Regions from separate parts of the Homo sapiens genome. Here regions 2 and 3 are each linked to region 1. The links are contacts of gene promoters, found by promoter capture Hi-C in blood cells and fetal thymus (Javierre and others, 2016). All regions are on one chromosome and are shown on one strand. The core of a region is centred on a gene start or on the middle of the fragment in contact, and the rest is flanking DNA. Distances in the headings are between cores, read along the strand shown.

Evidence for each region. Contacts are between HindIII fragments. The CHiCAGO score rates a contact against its expected background, and 5 or more counts as called.
Region 2: a contact is called between a fragment that was not itself captured here and the fragment with the promoter of TAAR8 in region 1, in 1 of 17 cell types (monocytes). The highest score is 5.7, in monocytes.
Region 3: a contact is called between a fragment that was not itself captured here and the fragment with the promoter of TAAR8 in region 1, in 2 of 17 cell types (neutrophils and monocytes). The highest score is 5.7, in neutrophils.

The regions. Positions count from the first base shown.
Region 1 is chr6:132,550,219-132,554,393 of GRCh38, reverse strand. It overlaps TAAR8 (trace amine associated receptor 8), which reads right to left and starts at 1,722. Exons shown (of 1, transcript NM_053278.3): 1 at 638-1,722. The coding sequence starts at 1,701. The coding sequence ends at 673. The HindIII fragment of the contact is 7,110 bases long and covers 1-2,108 here.
Region 2 is chr6:132,792,386-132,796,560 of GRCh38, reverse strand. All of the region lies in intron 2 of SLC18B1 (solute carrier family 18 member B1), which reads left to right. Among named protein-coding and RNA genes, the nearest start is that of SLC18B1, 4.2 kb to the left of the region's middle. The HindIII fragment of the contact is 1,750 bases long and covers 940-2,689 here.
Region 3 is chr6:132,769,078-132,773,252 of GRCh38, reverse strand. It overlaps SLC18B1 (solute carrier family 18 member B1), which reads left to right. Exons shown (of 14, transcript NM_052831.3): 10 at 165-260; 11 at 1,047-1,121; 12 at 2,124-2,217; 13 at 2,314-2,363; 14 at 2,917-3,883. The coding sequence ends at 2,983. Among named protein-coding and RNA genes, the nearest start is that of VNN2, 13 kb to the right of the region's middle. The HindIII fragment of the contact is 3,459 bases long and covers 101-3,559 here.

The DNA of each region.
Region 1 (4,175 bases), core at 473-2,972:
AGAATGGCCACTTGTAATTCCAACACTTTGGGAGGCTGAGGTGGGCAGATCACCTGAGGTCAGGAGTTCGAGACCAGCCTGGCCAACATGGTGAAACTCCATCTGTACTAAAAAATACAAAAAGTAGTCAGACATGGTGGCATGTGCCTGTAATCCCAGCTACTCAGGAGGCTGAGGCAGGAGAATCGCTTGAACCTGGGAGGCGGAGGTTGCAGTGAGCCGAGATCACGCCACTGCACTCCAGCCTGGGCAACAAGAGCAAAACTCCATCTCAAAAAAAAAAAAAAAAAGAAAAGAGAAGAAAAGAAAAAAAGTCCACTTGAAAATAAATGAAAGTTGAGCATTAAAAAAAAAAGATGATTCAAAATTTCACATCCAAAAATGCAATTCAGAATTCAGTAAATCGGAAAAAACAAGTGCATGTGGCAAGGATGTGTACAAAACATAGAGACAAGTGACATGTGTGAACCACTTTATCATTTATTATTTAATGTAGTCAATATCTTTACAATAGTTTAATAGTTTAATCTTCCTGTGACCTTTTTCCTGGTTAATTTGAAAAGTGATATATTTCTCCAATTTTGAAAAGTTTTATTTGTTTCTTATATTTAATTTCCTTATAAATTCATAATTTTAAAAATATTCTTAATTTTCTCAACTTAGTGCTTAAACTTATTCTAAAAATAAACTAATGGTTGATGAACTAGCCTTTAAAACATCTCCACTTAAAATAAGTTTTATGGCTTTCCTAAACCAAGGATAAAATAGAGCATAAATCAAAGGATTCATGGCTGAGTTATAATAAGCACTCCAACAGCAAATTTCATAGATATAGGCAGGGGTCAGGAAGCCCATAAAGGCATCAATTAATATATCAACTGTATACGGTAACCATGAAATAACAAATGCTAGTACCGTGACCCCCAGGGTTTTAGCTGCTTTCCTCTCTCTCTTGGCCACTCTGATTTTATAACTCTCTGAGGATGATTCTACTTTGCTACTAGTAGTTTCAATTTTTATAGCTTGTTGTTTAGCTATAAGAAAAATCTTACTGTAAAGAATTATCATAACAAGGGTAGGTATGAAGAATAACAGAAAATCTATCAACACCCAGCCTTGACTTACAATAATTTGACAGCCACCTACGCAGTTGAGAGCACTTACTAATTCCTCCAGCCCATCATCATTGACACCTGTGTAGAACACAGCACCGCTGTACGTGAGAGGCAGAATCCAGGACACGCTGATGCAAATTCCCGACACAGACACGGTGAACTTGGTAGCATAGACCAGGGGATCAGTAACCACAATGTACCTGTCGATGCAGATGAAGCACAAGTGGAGGACAGAAGAGTAACAAAATGCCACATCACAGCAACTGTGAAGAGTACAAAATTTGGCTCCAAAATACCAGCAGCTCTCCACCGTCCTGACCATGCTGAAAAGCATCACAGTCACACCTACCAAGAAGTCAGCACAGGCCAGAGAGGCAATGAGAAAATTGGTTGGAGAGTGCAGCTGCTTAAAATGAAGAACAGAAGTCATTACTAAGAGATTTCCAAATACAGCCAGCAAAGACCCAAAGCTAAACGCCGTGTACAGAATTACCCGGGACCCAGGAGAATAGGGAGTTTCAATACAAGATCCATTCACATCCTCATAGCAAAGCTGCACAACAGGTTGGGAAAAATTGCTGGTCATGGTTCTGCTGTTTGTTGTTTGCTATTTCTGTCCTTCCTTGTGATAGGGAATTATAATTTTGAATTCTGAAAATTAAAACAAAAACAAACTGCATATGTGAGTACTTACAAATTTTGTTTCATATTATATTCTTTTTCAATTTTAATTATAAAGAGAAATTAAATTCAAAAACATAAAAGATAATTCTGTCTTTAATCTCATAATTATTTCTGTCGCTATGTCTAAACCTCGTCATTAACCCCAAGCAAATCTACTATGAATTTTCATCAGCTGAGTAATCACATTAACCAAGTAATTGAAGAAATGTAATTTAAATACCTGGTTTTATATACATGTGAATCCTTCTTTTCAAAGGACGATCATGTATAATATAATTACATATTTGAGAAGTCACCTTTTAATAAGCTTCCATCTCCTAGGACATTTTAGGAAGCCAGCCAATCCATTGTACCCATTATAAATTCTTCACAAGGAATCCCCATAGTGTAAGGTGTGAATCATGAAATGAATCCCACTTTTGATAATTATAATTAATAAGTTCACCTACAATAGGAGAACTGTTTCTCTGTGCTCTGCAACTTGGTAGAAACACTTATGATTTTCATAACCATGAGATTTCTTTAAGTTCAACTGTCCTGAAATAGCCTAACCCAAGATTTGACAATAGTATTACCTATTCCTTATTTACAAGACTATCTATATAATTTGCAGCATCCAGCACAAAATAAAATGCAGAGACCCTTGTTCAAAAGTATGGACAAAAAGTGTCATTAAAGGTACTGAAATAGAAAGCTTTTACCTTTCTTTTATGGTCTTTCTTGGCCTGTCATAGTGTTCGATATTTGCTATGGAATGCCCTTGGACAAAGAGGTATTTGCAGGGCAAGTGAGGACTCTCACAGGTGTCTGCATTCCCTGCCTTGCAACTCAGCTTGCACATGGTCCACCCACTGCCAGATTCCCCCTCCTACCAGCTGCTGAAGTAATATGCCATAGTCAGGATGGGGGTGAGAAGCTGAGCCAGGGATTTGCCCTTCTCACAGGCCTGCTACCTCAACAAAAGGCAGACCAATGACCCCCAAGGGATTACAACCTGCACAGCAGAAAGCACTTGATACCTGGATTGGGGTTCATGAGGGGCTTGGCCCTGCTGAGGAGCTCATCAAACGTGCTGTGACGCTGCCAGCGGGAGATGGAGGCAACAGTCTATGCCTAGCCCTGAGACTGTGGAGGATGTGCCTGGCTGCAACTCTCCCTGTGATGCATCCAGTCCTCTGCAGGGATGAAAAGAGGATGGCAGTGGTCCCTGGTCAGAGCGGGTAGGAGGAGACTGGATGGAGCCCAAGGTGCCAGGGGGCAGGGGAACATGAGGCTGAATACCCCTCCCAGGGAAGAAGGAACAAGGTGTAATGCAAGACTACTAGTGGTCTGAAGTTCCAAGCACCCAGCACATGCTCCATTGTCTCTTCACTTAACAACACACACATTTGAATTTCAAAGACAGAAATTCAAGACAGCAACTATGAGCATGAAACCCTAATAGTAGGTCTCTGCACTGCTGCCCCAGTCATATGCCCATGGAATAACTGCCTGTTTCATTTCAGATATTAAATTATCTCTTTGTAATAGCAGCTCAATGATGAGGCAAAGAATACCCCATGTGGAGGTAACTGCGAAATTTCCAGACAAGAGGGTGTAGAAGCTGAGGTCCAGGCAGTTCTGAAAATAACAGCCTTTCTTGACATACAGGCTTGTCCCCATAATACTAACAGTAATTTAGGGGATTAAGAAGCGAGATTAAGGAATGAAGCTCCATAAAAAGAATTTCAGGCCTGGGGGAAAAAAATAGCTAATTTTGATCCTATATGGCACCTACTAAGTAGGAAATGATAAAGACCTTTTTCCTCCACAGCAGTATATATAGGACTTGAAAATACAGATATGATATGCCAGTTAGGATAAAGGTACTAAAAATATATAGAAATAAATTAATACATGTATTAAAGGTGTGACATAAAAACAATCATTCAGTTGATCATCTACCAAATTCTTTTTGGCAATGCTATTTTACCTTTCCTTTAATTCTCAAACCTAACTTGATCTCACCCTACTCTTACTGAGTAACCTTGCTTCTCTATATTCTGAAATGTGATACATGCAATTTAAAGACCAAAAGCATTCAGGGTTCAGAGCTGCATGATGCAGGTAAGAGTCAAGGATGATTCCCAGGTTTTCAACTTGCCAATAGGCAGGATACAGTAAGCAGGAGAAAGAGTGAGTCTAGAAAAGAAAGATGATGGGTTAGGTTTGGACTGGTCAGAGGGACATAACACTGGAGTCCTTCAGTAGGGAATTTAGCCTATGAGTTTTCAGCTCAGGAAAGAAACTGTGCCAGAAACAGTCATTTGGGGTTGCTCACATTCTGCTGTTTTGAAACCATAGAAAGAAATTTGATTGCCTGGTGCCCATAGCCAG
Region 2 (4,175 bases), core at 565-3,064, 240 kb before region 1:
CCTTCCTTTTTTTTTTTTTTTTTTTTTTCCTTTCGAGACAGGGTTTCGCTCTTGTTGCCCAGGCTGGAGTGCAATGTTGTGATCTTGGCTCACTGCAACCTCTGCCTCCCGGGTTCAATTGATTCTCCTGCCTCAGCCTCCCGAGTAGCTGGGATTACAGGCGCCTACCACCACGTCCGGGTAATTTTTTTTTTTTTTTTTTTTTTGAGATGGAGTCTCGCACTCTCGCCCAGGCTGGAGTGCAGTGGCGCGATCTCGGCTCACTGCAAGCTCCGCCTCCTGAGTTCACGCCATTCTCCTGCCTCAGCCTCCCAAGTAGCTGGGACTACAGGTACCCGCCACTACGCCCAGCTAATTTTTTTTTTTGTATTGTTTTAGTAGAGACGGGGTTTCACCGTGTTAGCCAGGATGGTCTCCATCTCCTGACCTCATGATCTGCCCGCCTCCGCCTCCCGAAGTGCTGGGATTACAGGCGTGAGTCACCGTGCCCGGCCGAATTTTTGTATTTTTAGTAGAGACAGGTTTTTGCCATGTTGGGCAGTCTGGCTTCGATCTCCTGACCTCAGGTGATCTGCTTACCTTGGCCTCCCAAAGTGCTGGGATAACAGGCGTGAGCCACCACGCCCAGCCCCGGCCCCGCTCCATATTCCCTCTTTTGACTTTAATTTCTTATGGACTCTAGCGCCAATGTTTATGCAAGGGAGGAATTCTGATTAATAGGGCCTATTCCTTCTAGGCATAGCCTTTTATATGGTGTTAAGATTTATAGCTAATGACACAGATTCAAAGATAATAATCCCTAGAAAGTCCAACTGGATTCTAGACGTCAATAGGATATAGTATGAAATGAATATGACTGGCTTGGAGTGTAGACAACATATCCATGTGTTTTATTTTGTGCTTTTTGCCAAATCCTTGGCTCACAGTGCAGTGGAAGCTTGTTAGTCCTCCAACTGCCTTTTAAACATGTAGTCCTTCGTTCTGTGTGTTACAAAAGAAGATAAAGTGGCTTCTCTGCTAAAGGAACAATATTGCCATGTACCCATACAGTGCTCTCTGGCTTCTAGTACACATTACCCCTTATTTATCCATTTAATCCCCGCAACAACCTCATACAGAATCTTGAGAATCTCAGCATGTTGCAAATGAAGAAACGGTCTCAGAAGTTGTGACTTGCCCAATTCAGTTCTATTAACTAGAGGTTTAATGAGTCCCTTCTCTAGAGCAGGCTAAGCATGGGATGTGTTAGGGTAGTATAAAAAAATCAGGGAAATGGCTTTCTCTTGTCTGCCCTTTGGGAGTGAAAAAATATGGGAAAAAAAAGGTTCCAATAATTTGGATATCCCTTAAGAAAAGGATGTCCAGAATGTTATAAGACTGTTTTTTTTTTTCTTTTTTTAAATCATTTTCTTCTGGCTTCCCTCTATCCATACTAATGTTATGAGAGCCTAGAAAGAAGAATGGTTAATTCTGCCATACATGGAGTGTGGATAGCAGAAGAAAGGGCGTTACTGAAAGGAACTTTCAGGCTAAATCTAAGTTGGGGCTTTTTTTTTGAGACAGGGTTTCACTCTGTCATCGAGGCTGAAAGTACAGTGGCATGATCAGAGTTCACTGCTGCCTCAACTTCCCAGGCTCAAGAGATCCTTTCGCCTCAGCCCCCTGAGGAGCTGGGGCACAGGCATGTGCCACCACGCCTAGCTATTTTTTTCTATTTTTAGTAGAGATGGGGTTTCACCATGTTGCCCAGGCTGATGTTGAGCTCCTGAGCTCAAGCAATCCGTCCACCATGTTGGCCAGGCCTCTCAAATGCTGGGATTACAGGTGTGAGCCACCGCACCTGGCCTAAGGTGGGCCCTAAGAAGTGTTAATTCTTATGGTGAACAACAGAGATGGAGGTGTTCTAGGTATAGTCACAGGAAGAGCAGAGTGAATGGCATGTTCCTGGGGAACAACAGACAGCTTCTTGATGTGGCTTGAGCCTGGGGTGAAGTGAGGTCTAATAGGAGACAGTGGATCTGAGGAGGCAGGCCTAAGATAGAAAGGAAGGGCACTTGTCAAGGACTTAGTCAGTGGGCAGTCATCAGAGGTGTTTGAGCAAGAAAGAGCAGTCTGGCCAGACTTGGGATTTTTAAATAATAATAATAACAATAATAATGCCAGGCATGGTGGCTCACGCCTGTAATCCCAGCACTTTGGGAGGCTGAGGTGGGAGGATCACCTGAGGTCAGGAGTTTGAGACCAGCCTGGCCAACATGGTGAAACCCTGTCTGTACTAAAAATACAAAAATTAGCCAGGCATGGTGGCACGTGACTGTAGTCCCAGCTACTCAGGAGGCTGAGACAGGAGAATTGCTTGAACCCAGGAGGTGGAGGTTGCAGTGAGCCGAGATCGCCCCACTGCACTCTAGCCTGGGCAACAGAGTGAGACTCCATCTCAAAAAAAAAAAAAATTAAAAAAAAAATAATAAGAGCCTGTGGAATTGAGATGGAGAAGAATTGGAGTGAGTGAATCAACCAGTGAGAAGGGCATTTCCTAGCTCAGCTGGAACTCAGTGAGTGCAACTAATGTTAGTTTCCTCTAAGTGAATAGGGACAAAGGAAAACCATGCTGTGGGTGTGTGCTTTTTAAGTTTTTGATTGAGTTTTGTGCTTATAGGAAATGATGACCAAAGAAAAAAGTCAAGCTTTTAAAGAATTAAAGTTCATTTTATTCAGAAGTCTTACCGAGGACTATAGGCTGAGTATTTCAGTTCACAGTTCATGTACAGGTAGTAGAGACTCAGTACATGCACGGTCACATCAAAGTTTGGGTGTAAGAGTACATCTGGTTATAGATTATGAATGTACCTTTGGTAATAGTTTATAAACGCATAATCACAACCCTGTTAGATGTTATCTTATGTGTAGGAAAAGGCAAAGCTGGGGCATTTATCATTTAAGGAATGTAATAGCTCAGGCAAGAGATGTGGGGGACCATGTGCTCTATCCTGCTCTGTCTTCAACTCATCCCTCCCAAGAGTTGCATGTTGTCACAGAGTCAGGGGTTTTATGACATTATGCTGGCAAGCAGAAGTGAGCAAAATGTGACTTCTTACATTTGCTACTTTTGTCTCGCCTCGCAGAGGGAAGGCTGAAAGAAAGGAGATAGAGGCAGGAGAGAGAACATTCTAACTTTAAAAGCTGTAAATATGAAGAGAAGGCTTTGATTTTTCATTTCTGATTAAAATCTTGTGGTCAACAAATGCATTGGTGAAGCCTCACCCTTCCTCCTGCATGTTCTGTCATTTTTCTTATTAGCTAAGCTAACTGGGCAAAGGAAAAACAGTGCCTTTCTTAAATTATGGTGTGGGATTCCTACTTCTATTCATCATTTTTCTTGCCACACTCATCTTTTGTCAGAGGACCAGAAATTGCTTATTTATTTATTTATTTATTGAGACAGAGCCTCGTTCCATCATGCCCAGGCTGGAGTGCTGCGGCATCGTCTCAGCTTACTGCAACCTCCGCCTCCTGAGTTCAAACAATTCTCCCGCCTCAGTCTCCCAAGTAGCTGGGATTACAGGCGCGCATCACCACACCCAGCTAATTTTTTTGTATTTTTAGTAGAGACGGGGTTTCACCATATTGGCCAGGCTGGTCTCGAACTCCTGACCTCAGGTGATCCACTCGCCTTGGCCTCCTAAATTGCTGGAATTACAGGAGTGAGCCACTGTGCCCGGCCTAGAAATTGCTTTTAATAGCTGTTTTTGCTTTCCTAATGTGAAGCAGGATCCATGTTCCAAAAATGACATTCGGCTGCTGCTGTAGCATGTGGTTCTAGCACATCCTGTGTCAGCATTCCATTTCCACAGCGAATATGGGAACATGCACATGATGGAAACTGTAGTGGCTCATGACCTGTAACCTTTGCAAGTTCCTGTCCTCATCTATAAATGAGGCCAGCTAAAAATGTATCCTTTATTTAATTTAATTGTTGTTAGATACCATGTAAAACGGCACTTAATAAAGAGATTCTGGCTCATAATGAGGGTCTAATAAGTATTAATTGCTATAGGCATTATATATTTTCTGCTAGATTCTAAATTAAATACTTATCAGAACTATTAAGCAAAGAACATTGATAATGCAACTTGACTAATGAATGTCCTTCCTTCCTTCCTTCTTTCCTTCTT
Region 3 (4,175 bases), core at 581-3,080, 220 kb before region 1:
TCTAACTGAATGAAATGGGTTAGATGGGAAAGGGAATGAGACTAGGCACATAATCGGTGAAATAACTTATCAGGGATCCTCACTTCCTTAGCATTAAGCTTTGTGTTTGTTAAAACGCTAATGTTTTTCTTTTTGTATTTGTTTTCTCCAAAACCCTTTTGCAGTCAGCTCTGGCTGCTGGTGCTGATATTAGTTGTAAGTGGCCTCTCTGCTGGAATGAGTATAATTCCAACTTTCCCGGAAATTCTCAGTTGTGCACAGTAAGTTACTTCCATTGCTTGAAGAGCTGTATTGTGAATAAGTAGTAAGTATCACAGGCTTTCTTGAATTTCTCAATTTTGCAGCATGTTGGATATTTTTGCCCCAATGTTAAATCTTCATGATTTTGTAGCATATGATATTATGATATAAATAGTAATAATACACTAATAGAAATGATAATAGTACATTAATAGCTAAAATGGGTTGTGGACAGATGTCTGGCTTGGTTTATGCCTCAGTATGTAAGTAATTTTGAAAAGCTAAAGCAAAATAGATAGGTCTCAGCATTGTTCCTCTTTCATGGAGGAGGTCCATGAGAGAGCCTAGAGTGACCAGCATCTGTCACCTGGTCATCATTCTTTTGTTTAATAGGCATGATGATGAAGAACACTAAGTACTATGGCTGTGCTGGGTCAGTTCAATAGTTCTCATGGGAATAAGGAACTATCTCTGTTTTTTAAAAGTTGCCTTTGTTCTCTTTCCATCTTCATCTCATTTTAAGAATTTCTTAATTATATATTTTTATAAGTATTTAATGCAAATGAGCCATGCTTCTTAATATCATATATATATGCAGAAAAATTATTTCTAGAAAACCATGGAGTAAATGTAACTATGAAAATTCTTTTAAATAAGATTTGCTTTTTATCTTAGAAGCAGAGTATTCTTGCTGTTGGTTTTTTTCCAGATTATCCTTGGTTTATCTTAATTGATCTATCATACAATTTTTTCTTTCACACAGGTTTTCCTTTTAATAATGGATACACTCATGTCTCTTTTTGCAGTGAAAATGGGTTTGAAGAGGGATTAAGTACATTGGGACTTGTATCAGGTCTTTTTAGTGCAATGTGGTCAATTGGGTGAGTAGTCATTTAATTTCTTTCTTTTTTTTTTTTTTTGAGATGGAGTTTCACTCTCATCACCCAGGCTGGAGTGCAATGGTGCGATCTTGGCTCACTGCAACCTCCGCCTCCCAGGTCCAAGAGATTCTTCTATCTCAGCCTCCTGAGTAGCTGAGATTACAGGTGCCCACCACCACATCTGGCTAATTTTTGTATTTTTAGTAGAGACAGGGTTTCACCGTGTTGGCCAGGCTGGTCTTGAACTCCTGACCTCAGGTGATCTGCCCGCCTTGGCCTCCCAAAGTGCTGGGATTACAGGCATGAGCCACTGTGCCCAGCCTCATTTAATTTCATTCATACTTGCAAGATGGAAAATATTAATACTATCCCTGCTTGATGTTGATGAAGAAATTGAAACACTGAGGGATCAGATGAGTTTCTCAAAGACAAACAGTTCATCTAGGGGAAAGCCAGAGTTCTAATCCATACCCTTTCACTCAACAATCAATGCCTATACCAACAGTTTAATACTTAGTCAAAATGGTTTCATATACTTTATCTTATTTGAGTGGTATTTATAAGTTCCTTTAATAGAAACATGTCTCTGATTTTTACAATTTATTCATTTATTCATTCATTTGTTTATTTTTTACCTTCTACCAGAAGGGTAACTATGCTAACAATGTAATATATTGTTTTGAATTGAGTTATATTAGTTGCAAATACTGAGAATAGAATAATATAAAGAATTTTTTAAATCTGTTTCATATTTTTTATTTTTATATAAGCCATCAACTTTTCAGAAGCAGTAATAATTTCAAAATTGTTAAAAAATTTTGAATGTCATTATCAGGTAGAATTATTTTCTTTTACTGAATGCTGTGCCCAGGAATTAGCTTTATCTTTAGTACTTATCTTCCAATGTAATGAAGACTTACAATTGAAGGATCATGTAGCTTTTCATGAAGTAATTATTTATTTTTTGCACTATTGAATACTTTTTCTTCTTTCTATTGTTAGTGCTTTTATGGGACCAACGCTGGGTGGATTTCTGTATGAGAAAATTGGTTTTGAATGGGCAGCAGCTATACAAGGTCTATGGGCTCTGATAAGTGTGAGTAATCAGTCTTTTATTTGCATTTTCCTTATATTTGTGGAAAAACTTGACTTGGAAAATTTACATTAATCAGTACTTTTAATTGTGTTTAAGGGATTAGCCATGGGCTTGTTTTATCTACTGGAGTATTCAAGGAGAAAAAGGTATGGTCAATTTTGGGGCTTTTTTTCTCTCTTTAAAAGTTAGCCAGTGCAAGTGGAAAATAAATAACATTTTACATTTATTCTTCCAGTCAGTGGATTTCTAAGCACTCTGAGGCTCATCAGTTGGTAGATACTTTTTTAATTTTTATTTTTTGAGATGGTGTCTTGCTCTGTCACCCAGACTGGCATGCAGTGGCACAATCTCAGCTCACTGCAACTTCTGCCCCCCGGGTTCAAGCGGTTTTCCTGCCTCAGCCTCCCACGTAGCTGAGATTACAGGCATGGGTCACCATGCCCAGTTAATTTTTGTATTTTTAGTAGAGACAGGGTTTCACCATGTTGGCCAGGCTGGTCTCGAACTCCTGACCTCAAGTGATCCGCCTGCCTCTGCCTCCCAAAATGCTGGGATTACAGGCGTGAGCCACCATGCCCGGGCAGTAGAAACTTTTTTAAAAAGATAGTTGGATGGAGATACAGGTACTGGTTTTTTGTTTGTTTGTTTGTTTTTAAGATGAGAAATATTGAGATTCATCTCTTCTTTCCCTCAATGTAGGTCTAAATCTCAAAACATCCTCAGCACAGAGGAGGAACGAACTACTCTCTTGCCTAATGAAACCTAGTCCGATGGATCCTGGATTGATACAAGGTTGAGAAATGAATGCTCCTGGCCTTAAACATCACCGTAGGAAGGGTTTTTAAAATTTTACGCGCAAAACTCCGTGGACCCCGTGCCAGTGTCTTGGAAGTGTCAACGTGTTTTTGGATGATCCTGTATTGGGCTGTACTTACTGTGATACTGAAAAGCTGTCCTGCTGAAGCAGCTATATTTGAAATATTAAGTATGAAAGGAGTAATTAAAAACAAGCAAAACAAAACAAGACTTAGTTTTTAAATGACCAAACTTGTCCTTAAAGATGTTGTTATTAACTCGAGTTAGTTCTTATTTCCTCTGTTTATTTTTTATTCTAAGTACACTGATTCTGTGAATGTACCTTTTTTATTAACAGGGAAAGAAATGAATTAATTTGATATGCTCTAAATACATAAAGGTGCTTCAAAATATGTAGAAACATTACTATGAAATCAGTTTTTAAAAGATATACTTTCTCTTTGTCCTGAGGTTTTTCGGTCTTGTTCAAAAGGAAGAATTCTTGCCTGCCATACAGAAACTCTCTAGCACTCCCTGACCTTAAGCTTTTCTAAAAATTCTGTTTGTGTGAAAAGTACAAGAATAACAATACTTACAACTTCCATTTTTGTAACCTACGTTCACTTATGATCTGGATTTATAAACATTACTTGGTATAACGTTTTTCATTTCCTTTAATGTCTCTGTTTTTTGGCTCTACCATCTGTTTTGTTTTTGTTTTTATCTATATCTTGGTAGATGTATTTCATCCCTAGAGCAGGTCAGCCTCCTTCCCCTAATGCGAATGCTTGTTTTGTTAGGGAAGGGCTTCCTCCAACTTCGTGTGAAATTGTGATGTTGAAGTGAATAAATGTCTATTGTGTAACTCTCATGCTTCTTGGTCTATTTTCATGGTGTAGTAGCCACATTTACAGTAATTTTTTTAAAGAAGAAATGGTTTTATCTATTCATTCAAAAATATCTTTTGAATGTCTTCTCTGAGCTGACACTATGCCAGATGCTAGGGATTTGGCTGTGATCAAGATAAACACAATCTCTGCTTTTATGTAACTTATACTGGTGGAAGAGACGAACAATAAATAAATATCAGACTCTCCAATTATCTTACAGAAATGCTAAGAAGGAAAAAAAAACATGGTGATGTGATAGAGTAGTTGGCTGGG